Linked DNA regions of Homo sapiens: regions 2 and 3 are each linked to region 1. Evidence: promoter capture Hi-C in 16 types of primary human blood cells and fetal thymus (Javierre and others, 2016). All regions are on one chromosome and are shown on one strand. Each heading gives the region's core, a stretch centred on a gene start or on the middle of the fragment in contact. The rest is flanking DNA. Distances are from core to core; before and after follow the strand shown.

Region 1 (4,041 bases), core at 548-3,047:
TCCTTTAAATATGGGACAGGTAGGCAGAAGAGCATCACAGTAATGCAGAATGAGAAACACTCACCAACCAGGGGCCTGGAGCAGGACCAAGGGCGGCCTCTAAAACCTGGAAGACACAGGGGACAGATTCTCCCCTATGGCCTCCAGGAAGGAATGCAGCCCTGCTCACACCTTGATTTTAGGTGAGACCCACTTCACATTTGTGATGTACAAAACTAAGATAAATTTGTGTTGTTTTGAGCCAAGTTTGTGGTAATTTGTTACGGCAGCAACTGAAAACTAATACAGTATTAAAGAATTTGAAAAACACAATCCTTTTGAATCTACCCTAAAGATTTGGTGATAAAAACAGGCAGTTACATTATGGCACATACCACAATAAAATTTTAGCCATTAAAGTAAATCTTTCAAGAATGTATACACATGGATCAATATTCCTAGTATACGGACAAGGCAAGGTTAAAATTAGATATTGTGTTAGTCCATTCCTAAAAATAACCCTGGAGGGAAAGACATTCAAACATTGTATGTCCTTAATTCTAGATGGTGAAAATATAAGATTAATCTCCTATTTTCCAATTTTTCTAGAGATCGAAAATAATCAAAAGGAAAAAATGATGGAAAAATGGAATTCTCAGTTCATTTGAAGAATACAGATTAGCAATTAAAAAATACAGCAGTATCTCAGGAAATAAACATTATTCTCATTTTACAAAAAAGTGTATGTGAACTTTAAAAAAATCTACACTACAATATGAATTGATATTATCTCTGGGTAGAATGCTAACAATTTTATTTTCTCCTTTACTGTATTCACTAAATGTTTCACATTAAATGTTGTATTACCTTTGAAATCAGAAGATACATTGTCTAAAACTGATACATCAAGAAATAGTTGTATAAGCATATTACCTAAACACAGAGGTTACCAACAGAAATTAAAAGTGGTTAAAAATGACTCCTGGGGAACTGTAAGAAGAGGAAGGTGAAGGGAAGAAATGGTTGCTTTCCATTCTAAATCTTCACACAATCTATTCTTAAAATCAGACAAGGCTGTGGTAAATTTTTTCAATTATTAAAAAAAATTATTTCTTCTAATAGGAATAGGCCTTTGAGAACCCTATTAATTGTAATAGGTTTCAATTCAGTTAGTCACTCAAGTATTATAAAATGCAACTGGATTTACAGAAATAATTTCCTACCTACACTGACAGTATATTTAAACTAAAAAAAAAGCATACAATGTACAAACAAATTTATTTACAAAAATTACAATTACAAACTGTACAAATTGAGACAATTTCCCATGCCTCCAACAGAAGCCAAGAGCCTTTACTGTCAAATGGCAGTTTTTGTTACTTTTAAATGACACACAAAAAGAAATATGATGCCTATTCAGTCATCCACTGCCAGTTTAAAAATGCTTTTCTAAATAATTCCAAGAAGCCTATTAGTGATATGTATATGGATAATTTCCCTCAACTCTATTTCTAGAATGGCTATGTACAAATCCAGCAAAACTGGAACAGAACAGGGTAAGAAAGCACATAGCAACTGCTTTTTCAACAGTAAATTTTGACTATTCCCCTAAATATCTACCTAGTGGCTTAAAACTAAAACTATGGTCTTTGGCTTTAAAAAGAAAGTCAAAAAATTTTGACTTTTAATGACTGCACAATTCTACCAAAGCCAGTGTTTACCTGGGTATTTTTTGTCACCTGTAGTTTACATTTCCCTGCTACTGTTAAAGAAACAGAATTCTACAGTATTCAATTCTGTATATTGTCTTTTAAGGTTTTTCAATCAGACTCACTACTACTGCTTGAGGAGTCCGTTGACATAATCTCTACATCATCTTCATTTTCTTTATTATGCCCAGGAGGTTCCAACAAAAAGTCACTACTATGATTTGGTGGTAACATATTCATCGACATGTCATTTGACTGCCATGGATACTGTGGAGCAAGGACATCTGGAGAAAAAAAGAAGCATAGATAAGAACAGCTCTATCTGTAATTAATCTAGTTCTTACTTTTCCCTTTATGCAACAATTTGAAGTATTTTTTTTAATTTTACTTTTTTCTCTTCTTTTTTTGACACAGGGTCTCATTCTGTCACCCAGGCTTGAGTGCAGTGGCACGAATACATCACTGAAGCCCTGACCTAGGCTCAAGCAATCCTCCTGCCTCAGCCTCCTGAGTAACTGGGTTACAGGTATGTGCCACCATGCTTGAGTACTTTTTAAAGTTTTTGTAGAGATGAGGTCTCACTATGTTAACCAGGCTGGTCTCCAACTCCTGGGCTCAAGCTATCCTGCTACCTCAGCCTCCCAAAGTGTTGGGATTACAGGCATAAGCTATTGTGCCAATTTTTTTAAGACTAGGAAAAAAATACACATTTAGCCAAATTAATAAAAATCAAATTTATCAAGGAAAAGTTGATATTTTAGCAACTGGGGACTTTTTTAAAAAAATCATACTACTCTGTAAGAAACTATTTAGTCAGTTGACATAATTTTTCTTTTGTAAGACATTTGTAATTACAAATTTTTCCTGTATCTATGTATCTATTATATGCATATATAATACATACTTATGTATACTAGGTTATGTAGATTATTCTACATATTATAAACAAGTAATAGGTACTTTAGTATTATAATAGATTTGAATGATTTCTTGATAGAGGAACTGCTATTGTAAGTGACTCTCATCAAAGAGAGGTTGATTAGCAATGTATGCATATGAAATACCTTAAAAAAGGGCCCAAGTTACATTTAAAGTCTGTATTTCTGAAGCAAAGGGACAGAGCACATAAACAGGTATAGTTCAAGACTCAAATAAAGAAGGCAGATTTTTAAAGGGTCAAAAGAAAGAGTTATGGTATTAACTAGAAAGGTATGCCAGTTAGCCTCAAATCTACCCTTCTCTCTGGCCCCTGAAACCATTTCTCCTTTGCCAGCTGCCACAATTAAGTTTTGTCAGTAGAGGGCACAGGTGGGACTCCACTAGCAAACAAGTTTCACTTCCTGGATCAGGTGGTTTTGTCTCCTTTACTGCTGTGATGCCTGGTTGGTGTGCAGGACATTAAGTGGTGTTCACCACAGCAACTTTCGGTGGCGCCTCTAAAGGTGGTTTCCTAGCAGGTTTCACCAGAATCCCAAAGGGCAGCTTCCCAGCAAGTCTCCCTGGAACCCCAGTGGGTAATTTCCTGCTTGCCAGCTCTGGCCTCTGATGCCTCATCTAACTTCTCTGCCATGGAGTGGGCCACATTACACTGCACCCTCTCCAATGACAGCACCATGATATGAGAGTATCGGCCTTGGGATGGAGCTGGGGAAGACTGTTTTTAGGTCTGTCCCTTCCTTGGTCCAAAATGTGGCAGTGACTCCCCATATCTGTTTTTCCTGTACTTTTAAAACATGAGAAATATGAGGTGATATCCAAGGATATCACAGTTGAGTTCCCCTGGTTGTACTTTAGGTAGCTAACAAAAATGATGCATACAAAGCATTATTAATGACACAGGGACAGCCTTATGATGTAACATTAAGCAAAAAATGTATAGGGGAAAAAAGGAAACAGGCTAAAATATTTAAAGTGACTGCCTCAGAAAGGGTATATTTTTTTCCTTTTTTAAATGCCTTTTTCTACTTCCCAAATGTTCTACCACATCAAAACAAAAGTCACCTACAAACTATAAAAGATGAGGAATAATATAAAACAAATATATATAAAAATAGCACAAACCTATGAAAAACTTGAGGAAAACTGAAGCTCAGAATGAACTGGGTCTCACAGAAATACTATTTTATAAAGTTATAAAAGTTTATAAAAAGCTATTGTTATTCATTTTGTTAACTTGGGGGTTGTTCAGGAGTGTGTTCACTTTATTCCGTAAACTATCTTACTCTATTTACATAGCATGTTTCACAATTATAAAAAAGCTATGTTTAGAGCAATAATTTAAAAAGAGAGGCCAAATGCCTGAGGAAGACAGTGTAATATTTACAAATAAGAGAAAGGCAGCTTGTTCTAATTT
Region 2 (4,041 bases), core at 433-2,932, 240 kb after region 1:
TTTGATGTAGTAATGTTTGTTAAAATTCTTATTTTTAAGTACTTTAGCATCAGAAAAGTTGTTTATGCATACATGAAAGCATATATTAATCCCTTTAAAGGAAAAGTTTGTGGTATTTTGTCTAGAAAAGTGTTTTCTTTTTTTAAAATAAATATTTAGTAAAGTGTAATAATAAAGATTAGCTTTGTTCATAAGGTTAGATTGTATTTATGCTGATTATAGCATATGAATAGGACTTTCCATTAAGAAATTGGCTAAGGTGATGTTCATATTGTGACTTAAGGTGAATCAGCTGTTAGAATTTTGGTTTACTTTCTGCATCTTGATTGGTAGTATGGTAGAATGGAAAATGCCTTGGACCTCAAGGCAGGAAACTTTGGTTGTAATTATATTGTAGCTATATGATTTTAGGCAAATTGGTTAATTCTGTGAGTCTCAGTTTGCTCACCTGTAAGGCAGAAATAATGCCTGAATGTGAACCTCATAGGCTTTTTGTTATACATACATATATATGTATATGAAATGTATGATATACATATCTCAAAGAGCTTTGGGATATATTGCTCTTGATAGAACCACTTACTTATTTTTGTGATATGGTGGTTATATTTTAAATAAATACAGTCATGTGTTGCTTAACAATGGGAACACATCTGAGAAATGCATCATTAGGTGATTTCATCGTTGTGTGAACATCATAGCATGTACTTACACAAACCTGGATGGTATAGCCTATGACACACCTATGCTGTGTGGTATATAGCATGTTGCTCCTAGTCTGCAAATGTGTACAGCATGTTACTGTACTGAACATTGTAGGCAATTGTAACACAATGGTAAGTATTTGTATATCTATACATAGAAAAGGTACAGTAGATCATCCATATCCTTACTGATTTTCTTTCTATGTGTTTTACTAATTATTGAGGGAGAAATATGAAGCCTCCAACTATAATTAGAATGGTCCTTTTAAATTCTGTTTTTTATTAATGTATTTTTTATTTTATTTTATTTTGAGATGGAGTCTTGCTCTGTCACCCAGGCTGGAGTGCGTGGCACGATCTCGGCTCACTGCAACCTCTGCCTCCCGGGTCCAAGCGATTCTCCTGTCTCAGCCTCCCGAGTAGCTGGGATTATAGGCATGCGCCACCACACCCGGCTAATTTTTGTATTTTTAGTAGAGACGGGGTTTCACCGTGTTAGTCAGGCTGGTCTCGAACTCCTGACCTCATGATCTGCCCTCGGCCTCCCAAAGTGCTGGCATTACAGGCGTGAGCCACTGTGCCTGGCCTTTATTAGTGTATTTTAAAGCTTTATCCTTGGGTACATACAAGTTTAGAATTTTTATGCCTTTTAGGTAAATTGGTACCTTTATCATTATGTAATGTGCTTTTTTATCCAAATTTATATCTTTTGTTCTGCAGTGTCCACATATCGATTCCACTTTTCTTGTGATCACTCTTTACAATGTGTATCGTTTACCTTCATTTTGATTTTAACCTATTTCTTTTTTATATTTAAATGGATTTTTGTTGTTTTGTAATCAGCATTCATTAAAAATTTTTAGCTGAATACTTTTTACTTTTGTTAGGGTTCCCTGTGTCTCTTCCTTTCATGTTGTGCCACAGATGAGCCATTATTTATATCTTTTCTCTCATTGGAGGTTCCTTTTTTTAGGGGAAATTAAATAATCTGAAATATAAGGAAAGGATATGTTGATTTCAAGAAAGGTTGTTTTTGTTCCTTATCTGGCTTGTTCTTGTTGTGAGGGTGGGAGCAATACTCTTTGCAGCTTTCTGCATTCTAGGAAGAAGTGGAATTTTACACTACCATTTGCTTTCTTTACAGGTTTACCTTGGTATTCAGTGTCTGTCCATAGGACTAATTAAAACTATACCAGACTCCTTCTATTTTAAACCTATCCGTTCAGTCTCAAGTTATCTTTTTGCATTGCCTCTCACGTCTGTCCCTTCATTTCTTTTACCAGCAGTGCTTGGTTTTTACTGTTTGCTTTGGTTTTAATTTCCTTTTTATTTTTTTAATTTCAGAAGGTGGAAGCTTATGTCATTGACTTGAGCATTTTTTATGCATGTTTTAGTGCCTCTTTCTGACTAGTCTCTTCTTTTCTCCATCCAATCCATCCTGTGCCTGATTTTTAGAAAAGACTGGTGTACAGTTTGCCCCTTTTGCTTTAAAATTTATTTTTCATTGTTACAACCCACTCTCAGTAGCCTCCATTGTAACACCCTCCCATGCTCCCACCACCATTATGAAGAAGTAAAGTCCAAACTTTCTCAGTATTTGTAGTTCTTCATGGTCTGTGCTTTAACCTTCCTTCCAGTCTTATTTTTTATTTCCATTGTTGGCCCCCAATGCCTGTGTTCTCTTCCCTTCCATATGAATCTTCCATATGAATATCTTCCATATGAATATGATAGTATTCATATTCATGCGATCTCCCCTTTTTTTGGAATACCCTTCTTTTTTCTTTTAGCCTAAATTCTGTTTTTAAGATGCAGTTAAAGCTTCTCCTTTATGCATATCTCTTATAAGATATATTATTTGCAGACTTTTCCCCCCATTCTGTGAGTTGCCTTTTCACTTTCTTGATGATGTCATTTGCAGCGTAGGATTTTAATTTTGATGAAGTCCAGTTTTCTATTTTTTTTTTGGTGGTGGTTTTTTTTTTGGTTGCTTGGGCTTTTGATGTTGTATCTAAGAAGGCCTTGACTAACCCAAGGTCATGAAGACTTATTCTGTGCTTTCTTCTAAAAGTCATATGGTTTTTAGTTCTTGTCAGTCTTGGGTTTTTTTTTGTTTTTTTTTTTTGAGTTAATTTTTGTGTATGATGTGAGGAAGAGGTCTAACTCCAGTCTTTTGAATGTGGATATCCAGTTGTCTCTGCACCACTTATGGAAAAGACTATTCTTTCTTCATTGAATTGTTTTGGTGCCCTTGATGAAAATCAGTTGACTATAAAAACCAGGGTTTATTTCTGGAGTCTCAGTTCTATTCCATTGCTCTGTATGTTTATTCTTTTTTTTTTTTTTTTTTTTTGAGACGGAGTCTCGCTCTGTCGCCCAGGCTGGAGTGCGGTGGCACAATCTCGGCTTCCTGCAAGCTCCGCCTCCCGGGTTCATGCCATTCTCCTGCCTCAGCCTCCCAAAGAGCTGGGACTACAGGTGCCTGCCACCACGCCCGGCTAATTTTTCTGTATTTTTAGTAGAGACGGGGTTTCACTGTGTTAGCCAGGATGGTCTCGATCTCCTGACCTCGTGATCGCCCACCTCGGCCTCCCAAAGTGCTGGGATTACAGGCGTGAGCCACCGCGCCTGGCCGTATGTTTATTCTTATGATAGTACCATACTGTTTTGTAGTATGTTTTATAGCTTTGTAGTATGTTTTGAAATAGGGAAGTGTGAGTTCGACAACTTTGGTTTTCTTTTTCAAGATTACTTTTGTTACTCTTGGTACTTGAATTTCCATGTGAATTTTTAGGATCAATTTGTCAATTTCTGTTTTAAAAAAAGGCAGCTGGGATTTTGATAGGGATTATGTTGGATCTAGATCAATTTGCGGAATATTGCATTCTTAACAACATGAAGTCTTCAGATGCATGCATATGGAATGTCTTTTCGTTTAAGTCTTTCTTTCACCAGTGTTTTCAGTTTTCAGAGTATAAATCTTACTAAATATTTATTCTTGGTGATATTATTATAAATGGAATTGTTTTCTTTCCTTTTTGGCTTATTCATTGTAGGTGGATAGAAATAAAATCTATTTTTTTTGGATAAGAGCAGCTAAAATCAGTTGGGCACGGAGGCTCACGCCTGTAATCTTAGCACTTTGGGAGGCCGAGGTGGGTGGATCACTTGAGGTCAGGAATTTGAGACCAGCCTGGCCAACATGGTGAAACCCTGTCTCTACTAAAAATACAAAAAATTAGCTGGGTGTGGTGGCATGCGCCTGTAGTCCCAGCTACTCTGGAGGCTGAGGCAGGAGAATCGCTTGAACCCGGGAGGCGGAGGTTGCAGTGAGCCG
Region 3 (4,041 bases), core at 1,072-3,571, 170 kb after region 1:
TCTCGATCTCCTGACCTTGTGATCCACCTGCCTCAGTCTCCCAAAGTGCTGGGATTACAGGCATGAGCCACTGCGCTTGGCCGGGAAATCCTAGTTTTTAAAAGTGCGAATCACTAAATTTTTTTAATGTCCCAGCTGTTTTGCTGTTTTGGAAAGCATTATACCAGCCAAACAACACATCTGTGGGCAGCTGTCCTATGCACCCCCATATTTACCTATGTTACCCAGCATGTTTCTGAGTAACTAAATCTATTTCTGAAGGTTCAGTATATTTTGAGTTGAATAAATGGTATTGGTTCTTTTTTTATGTATATTTTTTGATAATATAATTTTTAACACTAAGAGTTGTTTTCCTCATTAGTATCCTGATTCCTAAAGCACTGTTGTTGAATTTGATACAGAAATGTAAAATATTGTATCTGAGCACTTTGAAAAATGTCTCTTAAAAGCTTCAGTCATCCTGTAAAAAAATGTTCAAATAGAGGTGCCTAAGAATATAAAGTGATTTGTTAGTTTGAGAACAGAATTGAAATTATACGAAAAAATATACATTTTATTTAAGTTTATAATTGAAGCACATTTACTAAAGCCTCTTAGGGAACTGATTGAGGTGACCTAATTCTTAACTAATTGAAGTACCAGAAAAGAATTTGTCCTTCATTTTGTTTAAGATATAACTTCTTAAGTAATTTTATTTTATTATCCAATGCTGAGATTTATTTGAACTAGAAATTAGTACTGTGCCAGAGTGAGAGTGCTCCTGAAAGCCAGGTCTTTCTATATCTACTGTTGCAAGGTGGTTATAGGCCAGCGTGTGCTGCAGTGTCTTCTTTTATAAACTGGGCTAAAAAACTTGAGGTTTAGGAAGATTAATTAGATGATAATTGTACAGCACCTGTGGGAGTTCTGTTACCTTTTAAGCGCGATGCAAGGTGCACCAGTTTTATTGCAGTAGAAGGGAGGAAACGTCTCGGTGACTTGTTTTAAATTAGGCCAGGTAAAGTTATATACCCCAGTGAAGAAGCTCTTACTTGTTAGTGGTTTTTTTCTTTTTAAAATTATGAAATATTTCAGGCACACAAAATACAGAGAACCTGAAGTATATTTTATATGTTTTGAAAGTCTTAAATATCACATACTTACATAATACTTAAATATGTGGTGTTATATGTTGTGCAACGTGCCTTTTTTGGGGGGGTCAGCAATTATGTTTCTTAGGCTTATCTAAAAATCAGCAGTGCTAGTACTTTTTTTTTTTAATTTTTATTTTTTAAAAGAGATAGGATCTTGCTATGTTGCCCAGGCTGGTCTGGAACTCCTGGGCTTGAGCAGTCCTCCTGCCTCTGCCTCCCAAAGTGCTGAGAGTATAGGCACGAGCCACTGGGCCTGGTCACTAGTTGAATCTTTTTAGCAGTATTATATGAATCTATAATAATTTATTTCGAATTTTTTTTTTGTTGCTGACAATGTAGTGTATATTCTTGGACATATTTCCTTACATATTCAAAAGTTTATCCAGGATTTATACCTAGGAATGGAATTGCTAGGTCATAAGATAAATGTATGTCAGAGGTGTCCAATCTTTTGGCTTTCCTGGGCCACATTGGAAGAAGAATTGTCTTGAGCCACACATAAAATACACTAACAATAGTTGATGAGCTGGGAAAAAAAATCACAAAAAAAGTCATAATGGTTTAAGAAAGTTTGTGAATTTCTGTTGGGCCACATTCAAATCTGTCCTGGGCCACACACGGCCATGGGCCACGGGTTGGACAAGCTTGATGTATGTTTATTAGATACTGCCAAATTGTTCTCCAAAGCAGTTGGACCTAAATTTCTGTCAATTGAGTGGAAGTTCCCAAGTTCCCTTTGTTACACACTTTTTCTAGCACTTGGTGTTAGACATTCTTTTATTGCCTGGTAGACAGGAACTCAGTTGATTTCTTCCCCACCCTCCATATCAAAATATAATTTACATGGAATAAAACTCCTGCATTTTATGTGTACAATTTGATTGAATTTATGGTAATTGTATAAAGTCATATATCCACCCCAACAATCAAGATACGAAAGATTTCCATCACCCAAGTAATTAGTTTCCTCATGCCTGTTTGTAGTCAGTCTCCCCTTCCCCAGCCAGTAAGCTGCTTTTGTCATTATGGTTTTGCCTTTTCTAGAATTTGATAAAGATGTGATCATATAGTGAGTAATCTTTTGTGCTAAACTTCTTTCACTTAGCATGTTTTTGAGATTCAGTCCCGCTGGTGTGTGTTATTTTGTTCCTTTTTATTGCTATCTATTTCATGGTATGAATATACCACAATTTATTCATCAGTTGATGGATATTTGGGTTGTTTCTAGTTTGGGGCTAGTATATAAATAATGATGCTGTAAATATTCATGACTAAATTTTTGACTCAGTTGATTTTTGATTATTGATCTTTAAAAATCTTGCCACCCTCTAATTAGTTTAAATAATTTGACTTTCTTAGATTTTCTACATAGACAGATTATTTACAAATAATAACAGTTTTTTCTTTTTTCTAATACCTAATCTTTTTATTGTTTGTGTACTTGCTGTAGGATCTCTAGTACAGTGTTCAGTGGAAACAGTCAATTTTAGTGGGCATTCCTGTATTCCTCAATTAAAAGGGTATGGTGAAGTATTAAAGTTTCACCATTAAGTATGAGGCTTTCTATAGGCTTTTGATTATTAGCCTTACTGATGTTAAAGAATTTCACCCTTTGCTAGTTTGCAAAGATTTTTTTTTAATGGAAGTTGAATTTTGTCAAATACATTTTCTGTATATTTTGAGATAGTCATGGGGTTTTTCTTCTTAAATCTCACGTGGCTTTTTCTTTAAGTAAAGCTTACTCTTTGAAGTGTTAAAATTTAATCACTCTAAAAACACTTTTAATAAATCTCTTAGATTAAAAACTTTTAAATCTTGAGCATACTTTAATCCCTTCTCCATGACTCGGATTGTATTATGGAACATCATTTATCTATCATACGTGATGTTAATTCTTGACTATAAATCGCTCAAAGTAGGAGCCATGTCTTAATCACATTTGATTTCCCACAGGATCTAGCACAGTATATTGCAAATAGCAAGCCTTACTTAATAAATGCTGAACTAGGCTACTGCTCTTGCTAAATAGCCACAGTTTGTTTTACGTTATGAATTATGTTGCATCTCTCCCTTCCCTTATTATCACGCTGGCTGCTGGTATAACTTTTATGAATCATAAAAAATTAAATAACCAGGCTTTTTAAAAAAATAGATCTAAGTTGGCCGGGTACGGTGGCTCAAGCCTGTAATCCGAGCACTTTGGGAGGCCGAGGCGGGTGAATCACGAGGTCAGGAGATTGAGACCATCCTGGCTACACGGTGAAACCCTGTCTCTACTAAAAATACAAAAAATTAGCCGGGTGTGGTGGCGGGCGCCTGTAGTCTCAGCTACTCGGGAGACAGAGGCAGAAGAATGGTGTGAACCCAGGAGGTGGAGCTTTCAGTGAGCTGAGATCGCGCCACTGCACTCCAGCCTGGGCAACAGAGCGAGACTCCATCTCAAAAAAAAAAAAAAGATCTAAGTTTTATTCACTCATCAAATATATGAGTGCCAGCTAATGCCAAGCCTAAGCTTGGCTTGGAGCTACCAGTAATGCAAAATGAATATGAATGGATACTTAAAAGATCTTATAGCCTAGTAGAGAGAGATAAGATCTTTATGTGAATTATTCTCATGAAAGAAAAGTGATAATTAGGAATTTAGAGAACAAAGATTAGATAGACTTTGAAGATTAAACAGCTCTTCTATGAAGTACATGATGGTGGTGCATAGGTTTGGGGTCTATAATTTGGCTGACCAAAGACTCTTGTTTATTTCCTGATTCTTAAGCCACGTTTCACGTTGTTGAGGTGCTGAATAAATTGACCTGTGGATAAGTGAAGTATTTGTAAGTGAAATTCCTCAAGAAATTGAATTTTAAAAAAATATTCAATAGTGCTGAGAAGTGATTTTTGAATGAACATGAGA

What was found. The method cuts DNA at HindIII sites, captures the fragments that hold promoters and counts their contacts. A CHiCAGO score of 5 or more calls a contact.
Region 2: a fragment that was not itself captured here is called in contact with the fragment with the promoter of MED4-AS1 in region 1 in 2 of 17 cell types (naive CD8 T cells and naive B cells); the score reaches 5.4 in naive CD8 T cells.
Region 3: a contact is called between a fragment that was not itself captured here and the fragment with the promoter of MED4-AS1 in region 1, in 1 of 17 cell types (total CD8 T cells). The highest score is 5.5, in total CD8 T cells.

The regions. Positions count from the first base shown.
Region 1 is chr13:48,075,340-48,079,380 of GRCh38, forward strand. It overlaps MED4-AS1 (MED4 antisense RNA 1), which reads left to right and starts at 1,798. Exons shown (of 3, transcript NR_046511.1): 1 at 1,798-2,012; 2 at 2,103-2,214. It overlaps MED4 (mediator complex subunit 4), which reads right to left. Exons shown (of 7, transcript NM_014166.4): 7 at 385-1,972. The coding sequence ends at 1,800. The HindIII fragment of the contact is 10,244 bases long and covers 1-4,041 here.
Region 2 is chr13:48,310,710-48,314,750 of GRCh38, forward strand. The region is part of intron 2 of RB1 (RB transcriptional corepressor 1); the gene reads left to right. Among named protein-coding and RNA genes, the nearest start is that of RB1, 9.0 kb to the left of the region's middle. The HindIII fragment of the contact is 747 bases long and covers 1,310-2,056 here.
Region 3 is chr13:48,247,044-48,251,084 of GRCh38, forward strand. All of the region lies in intron 1 of ITM2B (integral membrane protein 2B), which reads left to right. Among named protein-coding and RNA genes, the nearest start is that of ITM2B, 16 kb to the left of the region's middle. The HindIII fragment of the contact is 1,093 bases long and covers 1,776-2,868 here.